Linked DNA regions of Homo sapiens: region 2 is linked to region 1. The links are contacts of gene promoters, found by promoter capture Hi-C in human tissues and cell types (Jung and others, 2019). All regions are on one chromosome and are shown on one strand. Each heading gives the region's core, a stretch centred on a gene start or on the middle of the fragment in contact. The rest is flanking DNA. Distances are from core to core; before and after follow the strand shown.

Region 1 (2,700 bases), core at 144-2,643:
TACCGTGGAACTGAAGTCAGCAAGCCTGTACTGCTGACAAAGATGATTGAGTCTCACAGCAATTTCCTGTGATTAACTCAGGTCACAGTTGAGAGGAGTTTGAGTGGAGATTCAGGGCCATTTTAGTATCTTCTGTAGGACAGAGGTCAGCAAGCATGCCCCAGAGGTACAGATGTATATGTCTCCCAGGAAGTCTCTGTGGGTGAAGGACTGATCTCAAGTTGTGGCTGACACTAGTTAAAGCCAAGTTAGAGGGCTGTTTCAGGGTCTACATTGAGACTACAGTTGATATGCCTACCTCCTGAGACACTAGTGTGTGAGTCTCCTCCTGGGCCCCTGGGCAAATGGTTTTGGCAGCATGACCAAGGCCTAAATGGGGCTGAAGGCAAGCACAGGAGGATGGGTCCCTTTTCAGGTCTGGAGATGGAATCACTGTTGGTAAGTCTGCCACTTGGATGCAAATCTATTCCCTAAAACAACCTTCCTAGGTCTTGGGTTCCACTGGCATTTTACAAACTCCTACTTGAATTCCAAACTCCCTCAAAGGAACTTTTGTCTGTGGATGGCTGAAAAATTATTGTTGCTGTGGGGGCATATGTGTGGGGGACCACCTATTCTGCCAATTTACTGACTTTCCTCCTAGTAAGATTTTAAAATTACTTTTTCCCCATACATAGTTTGACTTCAGTTTTTGTCATTTACAACTAAATATTTCTATGAAAGTCGACATAATTTGTTATGGCGGAGGATGAATAAATGAAGAATGTAATGAATAGCTATTTAATATTTCAATTTCTGGTATGCTAATATATTTCAAAATTGATTAATATTTTACCTATCCAAGATATTTTTATCAAGGGTAATCTGAAGATTAAATAATCTATTTTTAAAAATTAAGTGCAAAAATTTAAGAACTAAGAGAAGTTAATAATATAACTTTGGCAATGATGCTTTTTGTGCCAGCTACAATCAATTGAGTAATTACTGCAGTAATTTTTCAGAATAATTAAGGAAAAAATCAGTAGATATCAGTTGATAATATTACTATGAGTTTTAGAATGTTTTCTATTATAATGGAAGTGACATAATAAAATAATATAAAGAAAAGAAGTATGCAATGTTAAGATTTAGCAACCTAGTCTAAAAGGCACTCTTAACAAGGTGAGGGTTGACAATGTTCGTGATCAAGACAGAAAAAAAAAAAATTCTCATAGGCACTTGAAAAATGAACCAACTAAATGACACACTTTCAAAGTCAACCTTGTACTTTTAATAGACCAAGTATCCTATATTTTGGAGGTGTGTGATGAGATAAAACTGATTTCACAATAGCCCATGTGTAGAATTTCCTGTTCAAACCTTAGTAACACGTTGATGAGAAATCTACTTTTTCCACTCTTGACTCACTCTGAGCCTTCACAGGGCAGTCTGCGAAGATTGCAGGCATTGTTTGTTCTTGTCTTGGATTTATGCCTTTAAATTTCACCTTTTATTACACAGCTATAGCAGGCCTTTTTATGAGACTAACCTGGCCTCTCCACTAAAGGATGTGTGACTTTCTGGGGACAGAAGGTATGTATTGCTACTCTCCAACTCTCTACTAGCCTACCTCATTTAGTGGGTGATTTCAAGTGCTCAATATGATACAAAGGAGGTATAATTAATATACAATAAAATCAAAGTAGAATATTGCTGTCTTCATTTGAATAACTCAGGGTAAAAACCTAAAATATGAAATATGTTGAAGGATTTCTTAAAGTTTTCAAATTATTGTTTGTGGAAATCTAGTGGGTTTGTTGATCAATATCGTTTAAGGGAAAGCTATTAACATCACAATAATGAACAATTAATTTTGTATTTTGTAATCAGTACATCATGTATCTTTGAATAATAATTTATATTTAGCTTAGCCATTAAAGATTATTAAAATAAATCAATCAATTGATGAAAGCCAAATACAATTCCTCAGACACGTAGATTAGAGAAAAGCAGTTTTTATTTTTAATAAAAATCAGAATGAGGTAGATTACATAAAATGCTAAAGGTATTACAAAGCAATAAAAATACTTTTTAAAAATTGATCAAAATATTGCAAAAAAAGATGTAGCGCATGGACATAGGAGACTTATCTGAAGATTTATTTTCCATGCTTTAACTGACATGAATCAGAAACAGTAACATAACAATTGTGACTAAAATAATAATTAAAGTAGCTAATGCTTATTGAGAACTTTAAGTGCCAGGTTGAGTGGTAAATGTTTTACATGCAACGTTTTATATGTTCTTATGCCCATTTTAGATTAACAAACTGGGTTATTAAAAATAGAATAACTTTTTAAAGGTCGCACATTATAAGTGTCAAAGCTAGAATTAATTCTAGATCTCACTGACTCCAGAGCCCATTGACTAAATGATTTAATTACATTATCTGAAATTTTACAAGTACTTATACAACTAAAGTGGCCTTTACTCACTTTGACAACCATAAAATCATTCTATAAGTTTAAATGAAATGTGCTTTAACATGAATTACCTATACTTTTATTTATCATTTTTTGGTTCATAATTTAGCCAGGAAATAAATTACCAATTACTAATTAAATTACCAATACTTCTGTAAGTATTAACAATTTATGTAGTGTTCCTAATACTATTTAGGTTATGCATAAGTTAACTGTGTCACATAGCATTTTCTGTCAT
Region 2 (2,700 bases), core at 183-2,682, 150 kb before region 1:
GGTTTCTGAATTGGGTCTTTTCAACTCTTGGAGAAATTCCTTCAACAACCCCTGGAAGGAAGAAACATTTAATTTCACTTTTGTATATCCCTGAGGATTGTACTTTGTATCACCTTCTTTGAATAGAAGAAAATGTGGAGAAATCTAACACATGCTGACACTCTGTAGGAGTAACTTAAGTCTTCTGCTTAAAGAAGCATTATTTAGAAAAGCAAAGGTAATAGTTAACAGTATTTATTTTAAGCATCGTATCACTTTTAAAAAGTAAATTTAGGCCTCAGTTTGTTTTATGCAGATACACATATGTACTAAAAAGCAAACCACAGCAGCTAACCTTTTATATCATTTAGACTCAGGGAGAGCCTAGTATTTTATCTATTCACTTAAGGATGTGTTCATGGGTTTTGGTTAGTGGGGAGGAGTAGGCATGCTTCAGAAATTGCCTTTTGTATCAAGTCAAAGGTTTTATGGCTGTTAGAGCATCTTAGCTAATTCTCCATTCTGTGTGTGTCATAAACTGCATAATTAGGCCTCTGATTAAATAAATAGCTAGGATTGTCTTCAATAGTGTCTGTTAACTTGAAGATTCATTACAGATATAGCTTTTTAATTATTGGTTTTAGGCCTGCAGATAAACAATATAGGGAAAAATCTATACAGTAATTACAGCACACTAGGAACATCTACATTAGGTTGGTTTTTTTTTTTTTTTTTTACTAGTTCTTAATTTTAGTTATTTTGTGGAGTATTAGTTTTGAAGTCTTACCATCTTGGGATCAAATATAAGTACCATCATTATTAGTGGTTATAAATATCAACAAGTATTTTCTTCTGCTCTATGAGTTTTGGATTACACATTTGTAAAATAGGTTAGTAAGGTTATTTTCAAGATTACAGAGAGTACAAAGTCCCTACCACTAGGGCCTGACATACAGTAGGTGCTAAAGTGGTGGTGGTTATTAATATTACACATTTTATTTGTAGAATCTTCCAGAAAGAAAAAATGTGTATTTATCATATTAAAAATGGTCTTATACTCCAATCATTTTTACAACATGTGCTTCAAAGTGATGTCTTTAGTTTTTACTGACATTGTAAGAAATATTTCTTTGTCATTTTGTTTCATAGTGTCTTCTTTATGTCTCTGGAAAGCAATTCTTTGTTGGTCCTAAACTTGGGGGTAGTGCGCGTGAGCAGTCTTTATTTTAAGGATATAGTTTATATCTAAGAAACCATGTTTCTTTCCCCCTCGCCCCCCACTCCCTCTGTTGGCTGCTAGAAAACTTGCAACTAAAATTGGGATCTGCTTGTAGCAAGAATACAGATACCTCTGGGATAGATTTTTATATTAACTACATTTTTCTGCTATATTTTTTAGGAGCTTGAAATTGTAATTGGAGATGAGCACATATCTTTTACCACATCAAAAATAGGTTCTCTTATTGATGTAAATCAGTCAAAGTAAGTATGTTAAAGCATTTTGGCGAAGTTTTCATTATTACAGAGGCTCATTTTAGAACTATAGTCAGTTTGCTAGCCAAGATAATTTCAGTGGCATCCTATCAGTTTATTATGCAGATGTAATCCTGATTTTTATGTCATTAAAGGCTTATTATCTTGTCTCTCAGTAGAAGTTAGCAGAGTATTTCATTGATTGTCCAAAAACTTTTAATCCAACAGCTGTATATAATAATGCCCAAGTTGTATTAGCTACTTTGTATAAAAATGTGGATACAGTATCAGCAAATCCAAAGGAAAGAAATCCTTATTGGATTATGTCAGCCTCATTAGGCCTATATCATCTCACTGTCCTTCTTGGGCTCAATACTTGGGAAAAAGATGGAAAAAATCCATTATGGCCTAAGTATGCTTTAGCTATCGATGTCTTCCCAAGATCTGTCTCTCCTCTGCCCCAGGGTTTTGTAGCACATCCCATTTTCTTGGTCTGATCCTAGCCACTTATTTTTATTTGTGCCCATTCCCCTCAAAGTGTCCCCATAGTGCTCTTACTTTTTTCTGTCACCCTGAATTGTAATAACCTATTTGTCTGCTTTACTGGTTTGAATGTAAGCTCCTTGAGAACCTTGCTGTATCCACAGAGTTAGCATAGTGCCCTGCACATAATAGATGCTTTCAATAAATATTTGTTAGTGGAAAGGAGAAAGGAATGAATGCATGATAACTATTGGACGCAAAATCTGTGTTCACAAAGACCATCCAAATGCTTTTAAACTATCAAATTTCTTTTCCTACATTTGGTAAGGGTGTGGCATTGATACCCTACTGGGATTATAAATTGGTAATGGTTTTTGGAAAGCAGTTTGGTAATATGCATCAAAAACTGTTGACATTTTTCATTCACCTTTGGCCTAGTAATTTCATTTCTGAGCATCTCTTCTATGGAACTATTCCTAAATATTGGAAAAGCTTTATTATGCATGAAGATGCTCATTGAAGTATTATTTATAATAGGAAATTAACCCCAGTGTCTAACAAGGAGAGAATTATTAAATTAATTAAAAATTACTAGGGAATTTTTTTTTTTTAATGCTGTGGGGAAAGTAATGTAAAAAAGGGCACAAGGAATAATTTTAGTTATTAAAAAATAGAGAAACATCAAAATGTTTATAGTTATTCTATGAAATGGTAGCATTACAGTATTATTTTTTTCTGCTTTATTAGACATTTTTATGATGTGGT

What was found. Contacts are between HindIII fragments. The study calls those that stand out against the background at their distance.
Region 2: a fragment that was not itself captured here is called in contact with the fragment with the promoter of KLRC1 in region 1 in 2 of the 25 tissues and cell types used here (adrenal gland and hippocampus).

What each region holds. Positions count from the first base shown.
Region 1 is chr12:10,452,070-10,454,769 of GRCh38, reverse strand. It overlaps KLRC1 (killer cell lectin like receptor C1), which reads left to right and starts at 1,393. Exons shown (of 7, transcript NM_002259.5): 1 at 1,393-1,572. The HindIII fragment of the contact is 6,428 bases long and covers 1-2,700 here.
Region 2 is chr12:10,606,615-10,609,314 of GRCh38, reverse strand. It overlaps MAGOHB (mago homolog B, exon junction complex subunit), which reads left to right. Exons shown (of 5, transcript NM_018048.5): 4 at 1,379-1,461. Among named protein-coding and RNA genes, the nearest start is that of MAGOHB, 5.6 kb to the left of the region's middle. The HindIII fragment of the contact is 6,845 bases long and covers 1-2,700 here.